3 separate regions of the Homo sapiens genome follow, and all the other regions are linked to region 2. Evidence: promoter capture Hi-C in 16 types of primary human blood cells and fetal thymus (Javierre and others, 2016). All regions are on one chromosome and are shown on one strand. The core of a region is centred on a gene start or on the middle of the fragment in contact, and the rest is flanking DNA. Distances in the headings are between cores, read along the strand shown. Region 1 has its middle 210 kb from the start of IDS. Region 2 holds the start of AFF2 (ALF transcription elongation factor 2). Region 3 has its middle 38 kb from the start of IDS.

Region 1 (3,867 bases), core at 869-3,368, 790 kb before region 2:
TGGGTGAATTCATCAACACAGCAAATCTGTTCCAAACAAATTTGTTTCTATAAAGGGTCTTGGGGCTGGAGAAACACACTGCTCCTGAAAACACACTGTTTCATTCCTAAAACTCTTTCATCTCATTTGGGTCTCACCCAGTTCACTGTCAGAGACCCCCTTTTTGCAGCATCCCCTTTGTAATAATGAATAATAATCTCATTTATTTATTCAGTAAATACAAATGGTATGCCTCTAGATACAAGTCATCTCAAGGTGTTAATGTTATGGAGGTAGGCTGCCCAAGTAGGGCATGTGAGCCCCTAATTGGAAGGTGATGTAGACTCGTTCTCATAAATAAATATTCCAACTTTCTATGTCTCATTGGAAGAAAATGTTGGATTGGCTTGTCAATGGGACCAAATATGAGATTATGCGAGAGAGGCATTTCACAATTTATATGGCTGTGAAAACTGGTCTCTCATCTTCTACAAAGGGGGAGCAAACCTTGGCCAAGTGATTTCCCACCATAGTCTATGCAGAGCCACATGGCTACTATTGGTTGATTATTGAACAGATAGTAGCAAAAAAGAAGAAATACCTCAGTTCAAATTCTGGCTCTACCTCTTATTAGTTGTGTGACTTGGAGCAAGATATTTCAATTCTCTGGACCTCAGTTTCCCCAGCTATAAAATGGTGTTAATATCTGCCACACTGGGTCGTTGCCAAGGATGCAGGAGATAAAATATATGGTACACAGTATAGGACCTGCCATATAGCTTGACACACATTAATAAGAATGCTGATGAGTTGGATGTCAACTATATTTTCTGGTTAGATTTTAAAATAAGAACGATTCTGAGGGATTTTTGATGATGAATCTAAGAACAGTATTATTTAACAGACAGTACAAAATGGGTAGCTTATAAAAATTCATTGGGCTGGTATGACATTTCAGTTCTGTAGTACCTTTTGTGACTTAGAAAGGTAAGATAAACATTATTCCCACCTTCATTTTTCAACTCATTTCATTGTATGAAATCTCTTACATGCAAATTATTAGATACTTAAAAAAATGAAACAGCCACTCACTTGGGTTCTTGACCTCTTACATTTGAACAGTCTCACAATTTCTTTTATTCCAGGACAACTTAAAAGCCATCTTTATGTTAATGGTGAAATAGTTACTCTAGGTCTATTCTAATGCCTTTAATAATAGCTGGCAGTTAGAAAGGTGACAAATGCAAGTGTCCCCAGACAAATTTTGTGTCGTGGGTCTTGCTGAGGAAACATTTAGAAGAATTGCCTTTTCGTCAAATGGCTAATTGACAAGCATCTTGGCACAGGGTCAATGACTTCACCAAAGAAGAGGCCATGTTTCTGGAGAACATGTCATCCTTTGAGACCGTTAGTGAGATCCGAGTGTCTGAGTACCACTTCTATTGAGTAACAAGCAGCTGCCAGTACTCTGCTGTACTCCAGGCTTTCAGCACCCTAGAACCTGAGCTTGGACATTGTGTTCTCTAGATCCTTCCTTACTCACCATCTAAGATCTCAAACCTGGCTACCCTGTCATCTGTTTGATATTCAATCAAGAATGAGAAAAAGTCAAATCCCTCCCACCATCTCAGCAGCCGGTGTAGTTGCAATAAAGTCCATGTGCAGGTGGACTTCATTCAGAAATCTTTCTCATGGCCTCCACATAGTAGGTCGTTACTTGCCGTTGATTCCTAGGCCTACCAGCAGAGCAGAAGCAGCACTGAGATTTGAGGCAATATGTTATCAAGGCCGGGCTGCCAAAGAGTAGGAAGTTACAACTGACAGGGAAGGTGGAGATACACAACTAGTGCAAAGCTCATATTTCGATGCTGGAAATGCACACCCTTCACACACACACACACACACACACGCACACCACCACAAGCTGTCCCTTCTTTGGAGCAAGACAGTATTTCTAGGAGGTCCCTGTTGAATATCTTTAGGGTCCATATATGGTGGGAAAACCTGTTACTAACTTTCCACTGAGGTAAGCAACATGGCATGCTAGAAGGAGGCTAGCACAGAAAAAACAACATTGAGCTTGGGTATCCCCATGATCTGATAGTTCTTATAAGAAGGTGGAAACTGGGGACTGAGTTCCAAGTCTGTCTCTAACTCACTGTGTGACCTTGGGTAAGTCCCTTCTCTCTGGGCCACTTGCTCTCCAAATAGGATTGCATAAAACCAGCAATTGAGTTTAAAAGACATTCAACTGCTATTATTCTGTGGATATCCCTGAAGCTATAGAAACTGAGAGCTACATGTCCTGCCAGTCCATTGAAGGACAATTGGCTTATTCTACTGTAAAAGGAAAGCACTTTGTGAAGTTTAGTATCTTCGAGGTGGTTTCTAGTTTGACGTTCCTGGCCATGCCGTTATGCCTGTTGGTGAGTACATGCACATGGAAGATGGAGAAGGAAGGGGACAATAAGAGCATTGTTACCCCTGGTGCTTCAGTAAGTCTAGCCACATGTGTTTGCCTATGAGGGAAAAGTGTTTCTTCTCATCTCCTCCCCAACGACCCAGAGAGGCAGAGACTGGGAAAACAAGGGGCAGAGCTGCCTTCCCTATCCCCTTTCCAGCACCCGTCTCACTCAGAAAGCCCTTTGGGCTTTTGCGACCTCACTATTTATTTCTGACCTCTGGCCTCTAATTATACTTACCGTTACGGGTAGAATTTTGTCCATAGCCCCGCTATATGGTTTGAAATTTTGTCTCCTCCAAACCTCATGTTGAAACTTAACCCCAATTTGGCAGTATTGAGAGATGGGGCCTTTGAGAGGTGATTGGGTCATGAGGGCTCTGCCATCATGAATTGATTAATTCTCTTTTTTTTCTTTTTTTGAGACAGAGTCTCACTCTGTTGCCCAGGCTGGAGTACAGTGGCACAATCTTGGCTCACTGCAACCTCCGCCTCCTGGGCTCAAGCAATTCTCCTGCCTCATCCTCCCAAGTAACTGGGATTACAGGTGCCCACGACCACGCTTGGCTAATTTTTGTATTTTTAGTAGAGACGGGGCTTCACCATGTTGGCCAGGTGGTCTTGCACTCCTGACCTCAAGCAATCTGCCTGCTTCAGCCTCCCGAAGTGCTGGGACTACAGGCGTGAGCCACCGTGCGTGGCCAATTAATTCATTTATAGATTGATGGATTAATGGATTAATGGGTTATCGTGGAATTGGGACTGGTGGCTTTATAGAAAGAAAAAGAGAGACAGTTCAGCCTCCACAACTGTAAGCAATAAATTTCTTTTCTTTATAAATTACCCAGTTTCAGATATTCTGTTGTAAGCAACAGAAAACAGACTGAGACAACCCCTAAATTCATATGTTAAAGTCCTAAACCCTAGTATCTCAGAATGTAATCTTATTGAGATGAAAATCATCTTTTAAGATGTAATCAAGTTAAGATGAGGTAATTGGGATGGGCCCTAACCTAATAACCTGTGTCCTTATAAAAGGGGACATTTGGACACAGAGATGGATATGCACACAGGAAGAACACCATGTGAGCATGAAGGCAGAGATCGGGGTGATGCTTCTATAAGTCAAGGAAACAGCCCTGCAAACACCTTGATCTCAGATTTCCGGCCTCCAAACCTGTGAAAAAATACATTCCTGTTGTTTAAGCCACCCAGTTGGTGGCATTTTGTTACAGTAGCCTCAACAAGCTAAGACACTTGCTTTCTTACTTCTGCCACTCAACAGGTCACATGAGCTCATAACCTCTAGCAGAGCTCTCAGGGGATGAAATAGGCTTGTGTCAATGTGCTTGGATAGTATGGTGTCTTAGTTTAGGCAGCTATAACAGAATAACCATAGACTGGATGGCTTAAATAATAAACATTTA
Region 2 (3,956 bases), core at 1,038-3,537:
AAAGAGTCCATTCCCTTTAAATATGCAATTGCATATGCATAAGATTAAACCGGAATTAATATAAAAAACATGTTTCTAAAAACCTAATACCTTGTATATGTTTAACATTTGAACTATACCCATGAAATTAATTATAACAATGTCTGTTAAATTAACGATGTAACCCACACCACATATTAGGCAAATTGTATGCAAATAGAGTGCTATGGTTATCAGTTGTCTGCAAAATAAATTAGTGAAGCAGAGTAAAGGCTGTGTGCAGAAGCATAATATCTAATTGAGCAATAATTTTATAGTAATTTTTACTTTCAAATAACAGCATTTTTTAATGTAACAATGTATTTCTACAGAGCTGATAAAACCGTGGTATCCAAAACGCCTTATAGATTAATACTGATACAGCATAATTTGCGCTTCAAGGATTTATCCGGAATTGCTGTAAAATAAAATGTATTTAAGTTCTGACTATCTTGGATTTGCAACTAAAGGAGGCATGATTGGCATAATGAAGCTGTTGGCTAAGCATATGACCCTTTTTTAAAGAAGGAAATTGCCTAAAATATCACATCAACAGGGGAAATCCTTGTAAAAATACACAGCATTCATAACCAACGGCCGCTAGTAGTTTAACATTGCAAAAGATTTCGCACTATTGGTAGGTACTACAGATCATTCTAAATACATTTTAAAAGGCAATAACCAAGAATGCAATTTTAAGCGGTTACCACTGCGCCCCCTCCCCATCTAATTCCTTAGACTGCGGGGGGAATCTGATACGTTTAAGTATTATGACAAATAAACTGTGATAATGTTTGTAGTAGGTGAAGTTTTTGAAAAGTTAATAGATATGTATATCAGTATTTATGCACACGCGCACGCACATCTCTAAGAGAGTTAACAACTTTCCAGGTCCCCAGTCACCTTTCTACCATCTTTCAAAATGTCTCAGCGACAAGTTTAGGGTATTTTGTGAAGAGCTGACTCAACCTTTGAATCTGAGCTGGAGGTCCCTTACAAAAAACTACGGCTGCCTCCCAGTGGGAGGCCGAAGGGGGTCCATCCGGTAATTAAATGTGCATTGACATCAGAGCTGCGGATTTGGGGGGCCAACTCCGAAAACCCTCAGTCTTGAAAGCCAAGCGCCGAAGTCGGCCTCGAACCAAGGTCCCCTGAGTGGTGGCCCCCAAAGCCGCTGCTCCACCCGGGAGTGCAGGGAACTTGGGCTGAGTCGGCAGAAGGAAAGGTGTGCGCGCCGCGCAGCGCAGGGATGGAGGTGGCGGCAGCGGGGGCGGTGGCCACCAAGGAAGCAGAGGGCTGCTGGCCGCACCTGGCCGTTGCCTTTCCCCCATGGCCCGCCGCGGGCGTTGGGCACCTGGAAAGTTGAGACATTTCGGGCGGGCGGCATCCGGGGCTCAAGGAGGCCAGACCGGCAAGCCGCTCCGAGAGAAAAGCTCCTGGGAGGTCGTGCGGTTCAGCCCTCGGGCGGCACCGAATTCGATGTGAGCCAAATGCAACTCTTTAGACTTGGAGCGCAAAGCGACGCTTTCGGGTCCGCATCCCTCCCTCTTCCCGCACCTCCCCCCACCCCGGCATCCGACCTAGGAGTCAGCGCGGCCGGGGCCAGAGGTGGCTGAGAGCAAGTGGGAGGGAGTCCGGGGCGCCCCCCACGACAGCTTCAGCTCCTCTTAACAAAGGCGAAAACCTCAGACTTCGCCAGGAGACTCGCTCATCAAAGGAGAAGGCAAAAATCAACACCTACCACTGCTGCTCCAAGTCCCAGTCTCTGAAAAAGTCGAATAGATCCATAGCGGCCAGGCGGCGGCGGCGGGCGGGCGCCTGTCCCTGATCGCAGCGGGTCGGCGCGGCTCTCGGCACAGCTCGCTGGCGGTTCTCGGCGGCCCCCGGCTCTCCAGCCCTCCCGCCCAGCTAAAAGTGTCCGGGCCGCATCGGCAGCAGCAGCGGGCGCTGGAGGTGTCTGGTCCTGTGCTCCGGCGAGGAAGCGGCGGCAGTGGCACTGGGCGGGCAAGCGCCTGGTCGCCCACTCGGGTCCGCTCGGTCCGCGGTAGCCCGCGCACCCAGCGACCCGACGCTGCGGCGGCAGCCGCTGCGGGCTCAGGCGGGCTGGGCCGCCCGCCTGGCTGGCTGCGGGCCGGCGGCGGCAGCGGCGGCGGGGGCGGCCGGGGCAGAGGCAGCGGCGCGGCGCGGCAGCCGGGGCGGCAGCGGCGGCGGCGGCGGCGGCGGCGGCGGCGGCGGCGGCGGCGGCGGCAGCGGCTGCACAGGCGGCGGCGGCGGCCGCGGCAGCATCACACACTTACACACTCACAGGGGGCGGAGCCTGGACAGCTAGAAGCCGCGACATGGAGCAGGCACGTTATCATCCCCGGATCTGGCAGGGGCTCGCCGCGCCCGCCCCTGCCTTTCGGGAACCCTCTCCCACCCCCCACTGTCAAAATCAGCTAGTGGGAGCGGCCACAGAGCTGAGGACCCGGACCCGGACCCGGGACGCAGGGGCCGTGGCAGGGATACAGGAGGTGGGCTGGCGGGACCAGGACGCGGGCTTCGGGAATGGGACCCCTCTCTGAAGCCCAGCCCACCCCCACCACTGGGAATTAGTTTTGAACTAGAAAAGACAGCACAAACAGCCGTGGGGTTGAAGGTCGCCCCCTGCCACCTCAAGCACAGCTCCTTGAGCCCCCGAGTAGTGGAGCAAACTTTGCGGGCCTGAGCATCCCTCAGGTCTGTAGTGCGTAGCACGCGGGTCCAGGAAGGAGAAGGCGGTCACCTTCACCAGCCCCGTGGCTCCACGTGCCCGCACCCAGGCCCTCCAGGCATGCCTTTAGGCGCGCACCTAGTAGGTCAGCGAGCTATAGGCCCTGGATTCAGTGGGCAGCAAGGATAGGAACAAATGACTGCCCTTGCGTGGTCCTTGAGTTCGGGGTTAGGATACTGTTAAACTGGGTTCCACTGTCACTTTCCTCGCACGGTCACCAGGTGCCTTGAGCAAAAGACTTCTGCTAGCTCCTCCTCTGAGAAATGGGAAAACCACTGGGTGTGTGCCCAGTATCCCACGCACCGGCTGCCCGTCTCCCTTCTGGCCTGAAATTCTCTTTCTGCACGTGGAGGGTTTAACCGAGCCTCCTACTCCCTTCAACCTCCACCTCTGATCCAGGAAGGAGTGGATCCCTTTAGCCAATTCCCTGGAGGGAAAGGTTCCCTGGCCTCCGTGCAGAGAAAGGTCTGTGGGAAGGGGCGGGACCGCTTTCTGGCATTTCAGGACATGAGCATTCTGGAGTCCTAGGCATGTAATTTGCCTTCTTCGTGTCGTTATACAGAGGGAATAGTATTGGCACATTTTTCAAATCCTAAGGCTAGAACTCTCTTGGGAAGGACAGCAGACTGAGCCCTGACAGAGCAGGGTGCCGGTAGCTCTGTGTGTGACTCCAAGCAAGTCACTTATCTGGGCCTCAGTTTCTCCATAAAACACCCAGCAGCCCTCTGGCTCATACTTCTCTGACATTCTCCCTTCTATTTGAATATGCTTCTACAGTATTATCTCATATTACCAAAATCATCCAAATACCTTTTAACTTCATTTTTTTCCTGAAGAAACAGAGACCCTAAGACATTAAAATGCTCAAGATCTGATATTTCCCCTAGAGGGGGATCCCAGATTAGAACCTAGAACCTGGGAAGCTCTTCCAGGGCTGGAGCCAGTAGAAGGTGCCTCAGCTCCAAGCATGAATGACTTCAGCATTTGAGCTACAAGGGGCCCAGGGTCTGGTCTCTTTCACATTGTTTTACGGGGGGAAAGAAAGCACATCATTAACATAGAGAAACAAGGCTCTAAGATTCTGCAACTCAAGCATCCACTGGGACTTTGCTTAGATGTCTATTTACTTTGCATGGGACCAAGTCCTCAACAGATGCTGGTTGACTGATGGAAAATCAACCAGTGG
Region 3 (4,256 bases), core at 356-2,855, 970 kb before region 2:
CACAGGTTATCACCTTCAGCGGCCAGGGGAGCAGGATTTCCTCCAAAGATGCTGGGTTGTGGAAAGCACCATCTGCCTCATTCCCTGGCCATCAAGTCTTTAGACCTGCCACATCTCCCTCTGATTACCTTGCTTCATTTCCTTCATAGCATCCACCGTTTTCTGAACTTGAGTTCTGTTCTTGTTAATGGGTCATTGTACACTTCCCTGCTAGAATGTCAAGTCCAGAGAGCAAGGACCTTGTGGCATCTTACTTACCACTGTATTCTCAACACTTAGAATAGGTCCTGACAAATGTGTGAAAAATATGTATTTCATCACTTTTTAATGTTTATTTGAAAGCTCGTGAGAGAAACGGTGGCATATGAGAATGTGCCCTGAATTTGGAGTGTGAATTCTGACTCCAACCCTGACTGGCCGTGTGGCTTTGGGTAAGCGCATGAACCTCTCTGAGCCTTAATTAGTTTCCTCATGTGTAAAAGGGCATGATAGTACTATCTATCTCACTGAGTTGTTTTTAGGATATGATCAGACTATGTGAACTGTTCAGACTAAACTCAAGGTATTAGAACGGTTATACTACAGCAATATTGTCATGCATTTGGACAGCCCTTGACCTTGGGTGAGGCACTTAGGGGTTAGTGGTGATGTTGACACTAGGAATCCGGTCCCCTCATCCCTGGCCCAGACGACTTTTGATTCACAGTTAATGACCCCATCTGAGTGACCTTGGCAAACTGTCCGTACTCATGTAGAAGAAAAACCGGACTCAGATTTCCTAGTTCCCAGCATCCTTGCTTCCCCAGCTGGCCCTGAGCCACTCTTCTCACAGGATGATGGGTCAAAGGTGGGGGTGAGGGAGCAGAGGCCAAGACTTGTTTCCTAAAATGTTTCCTCTGTTGAAGGCTCCACTGTCTCTGTCATCATTTCCCACTCAACATGCAGCCCAGGCCCCTTTGGTTTTCATCCTTCTTTTGATGGGCTGCAGCTGTGTATGCTGCCGAGCTGCAGCATTCATGGGGATAGGGGTACACTTTTGCTAAGGCTAAATGCAGACCCTGTCCAAGGCTCTTTTTTCTAGGAGCTGCCCAGACCAATGTAGACAGCTTTGTCCCAGGAGACAGTGCAAAGAAACCTGACTGGGCCAGAAGTCCCTGCACCAGCTAGTTTTGCTGCTACTAACCTGCTAGGGTTTGCCATCTTTGCCAAGTTTATCTTGCCAATCCACTTTCCTAAATCAATGGCTTTAGTTAGATTCTGTAACAAGAGAAGTTGCAGCATCTGTAAGCACTTTGGCAAATATTAGAATGAGCTCGGAGCTCACGTGTGAGGACTCAGGAATAACCAGTATTGTGATTTTTTTGTTCTTTTCTTGGCCAGTTCCCCTAAAGGCCACTGGAATAAGAGACTTCAAAATAATTCACTTTACCTAAAGATGTACATTCATTCATTTGCTCATTTTCTTAATCCATCAACACAGAGTACCACCTACTCTTGGCCGTGCACACACTAGGCTGAAAGGCTTCAAAGGAGCCTGGGGCAAGATCCTCAGCTGATCAGATCTGGGCTCTAGGAGTGATACTTAATTTCAAGCTCCAGTCCCTTTGATGTGTGTGGGTTTTATTTATTTATTTTTGATGGGGCTGGGGAGGGGACCTCTATCAGGAAATGGAATAGGCTTCAATCAGCATGTAAGTATGTGTGGGGTAGGATAAGGTGGAGCAGGCTTGGAAAGCATAATTGAATTCAGTCTGGACTGGAATACAGTCCAGAAGAGGGATGGCAAGTAGATTTCTTCTTGCATGCCAAGCCCTGTTGACTGCAAAAGACTGCTGAGAGTGTATTCAGAGGATGCAACTGGGCCCAGAGGAAAAGGCCAATCCACAAAGGCTGTCATGGACCCGGGTGGGGGATCAGTAGGCAAGTGTTGGCCTGATCTTTATAGGTGGAAGCAGTGCAGGTCAAGAGATAGGGTTTCTAGTCTGAGGTTTACATCTAAGTAGTCTTGTGACCTCAGCAAGTCACCTACCTGTTCTCCGCTGTGGAATCTGAATCTTCATCTATAAGATGATGTCTTAGTTCAGCTCCCCTAGCAGCAGAGCCTGACAAGGATTCAGATACAAGTAGTTTATTTGGGAGGTTTTATTAGTCAGGATTCTCCAGAGAAACAGAACCAATAGGAAAATATATATATATATATATATATATACACACACACACACACACACACACACATATGTGTATATACACATATGTGTGTATGTAGTTGACCTTTGAACAATGATGCAGTTAGGGGCGCAGACCCTGCATATAGTCAGAAATCCATGTATAACTTTTGACTCCTCAACAACTTAATTACCAATAGCCTACTGTTGACTGGAAGGTTTATGGTTAACATTAACAGTCAATTAACACATACTTTATAGGTTGTATATATATTATATACTGTATTCTTACAACAAAGTAAGCTAGAGAAAAGAAAATGTTATTAAGGAAATCATATGGATGATAAAATTAATTTACTATTCATTAAGTGGAAGTGGATTGTCATAAAGATTTTCATCCTTATTGTCTTCATGTTGAGTAGGCTGAGAAGGAGGAGGAAGATGAGGAGTTGATTTTGCTGTCTCAGGGGTAAAAGAGGTAGAAAAGGTGGAGGAGGTGGAAAGGGAGGCAGGCACACTTGGTGTAAATTTTATTGGTGTCAATTTATCCTTATATAAGTGGACCTGTGCACTCGAAACCCATGTTATTCAAGGGTAAACCCATATATAGATGCACACACAAACATACACACCACATGGTATATACACAACTATATATATACACACACATACACACACATACGTATATGTGTGTATATATGTGTGTGTGTGTAGATATGTATATGTATATATATGCGTGTATATGTGAGAGAGAGAGAGAGTGAGATTTATTTTAAGGAATTAACTTACGCAAGGCCTTGGGGGCTGGAAAGTCAAAAATCTGAAGTGCAGGTCAGCTGGAAACCCAGAGAAGAAATGATGTTGCAGCTCAAGTCCAAAGGCAGCTAGGAGGCAGAATTCCTACTTTCTTGGGGGACCTCAGTCTTTTTCTCTTAAGGCCTTCGACTGATTGGATGAGGCTCACCCACATTATGGAGGGGAATCTGCTTTATTCAAGGAAAGCCTACTGATTTAAATGTTAATTGCATTCAAAATAAACTTTCACAGCAACATCTAGACTGGTGTTTGACCAAAAGCATCTATACTGTTGTTTGCCTAGCCAAGTTGAAACATAAAAACAACCCTTACAGAGGTGACCTCAGGAAACATTGGTAGAAGGCGAAGAAGTGATAAAGGGAAGGGAAAGTAGACAATAAAGGGTGTGTTGTCAAGTGAGTTACTACTGTGGACAACTAGAGCTGAATCCTTGTGGAGACCTCTGGGTACCTGATACAGTTTGGCTGTTTCTCCACCCAAATCTCATCTTGAATTGCAATTCCCACAGTTCCCCACCACAAATCTCATCTTGAATTGTAATTCCCACATGTCACGGGAGGAACCCAGTGGGAGGTGATTGAATTACTGGGGAGGGTCTTTCCTGCACTGTTCTCATGATAGTGAATGAGTCTCATGAGATCTGATGGTTTTAAAAAGGGGGGTTTCCCTGCACAAGCTCTCTTTTCTTCTCTTGTCTGCCATCATGTGAGACATGCCTTTCACCTTCTGCCATGATTGTGAGACCTCCCCAGCCACATGGAACTGTAAGTCCAATAAACCTCTTTCTTTTGTAAGTTGTCCAGTCTTGGTTGTGTCTTTATCAGCAGCATGAAAATGGACGAATACAGTACCAGAGTAGAATACATCCCTCAGAGTCACCCTGCCCACAGTAGGAAAGAATTGGGCCATTAATATACTAATTTCCATCAGTCAATGTTCCAGAGCTGCTTACAGTGTGGAGGTCAATTCCTCATCCTACAGGGATGCTATGTGGGCAGGTGAAGCTGACACTAGTGGTCAGAGACAGTGTCTAGGCAGAGACTCACATACTGACAGTCAGAAATTGGGCCAATATATATGGAAATGGCAAGGGCTAAGGGACATGGGTGGGACACAGAAAGTGTCTACAAAATAGAGAAAAACATGCATTCTCAAACTTTATTATTTCATTTCTAATGGTAAGATGAGAAAAATAGACATGAAAATACAATACTGGAATTTTAGTTTTTATAAATGAGATATTAACCATTTAAATAAAAAAGACTATTTCAAAAG

Evidence for each region. Contacts are between HindIII fragments. The CHiCAGO score rates a contact against its expected background, and 5 or more counts as called.
Region 1: a fragment that was not itself captured here is called in contact with the fragment with the promoter of AFF2 in region 2 in 1 of 17 cell types (M0 macrophages); the score reaches 5.6 in M0 macrophages.
Region 3: a contact is called between a fragment that was not itself captured here and the fragment with the promoter of AFF2 in region 2, in 1 of 17 cell types (M1 macrophages). The highest score is 5.9, in M1 macrophages.

The regions. Positions count from the first base shown.
Region 1 is chrX:149,291,613-149,295,479 of GRCh38, reverse strand. No RefSeq gene overlaps it. Among named protein-coding and RNA genes, the nearest start is that of IDS, 210 kb to the left of the region's middle. The HindIII fragment of the contact is 6,670 bases long and covers 1-3,867 here.
Region 2 is chrX:148,498,948-148,502,903 of GRCh38, reverse strand. AFF2 (ALF transcription elongation factor 2) reads right to left here and starts at 2,287. Exons shown (of 21, transcript NM_002025.4): 1 at 1,760-2,287. The coding sequence starts at 1,806. RefSeq lists an enhancer at 750-1,627. The HindIII fragment of the contact is 5,176 bases long and covers 1-3,956 here.
Region 3 is chrX:149,464,708-149,468,963 of GRCh38, reverse strand. No RefSeq gene overlaps it. Among named protein-coding and RNA genes, the nearest start is that of IDS, 38 kb to the left of the region's middle. The HindIII fragment of the contact is 5,578 bases long and covers 1-4,256 here.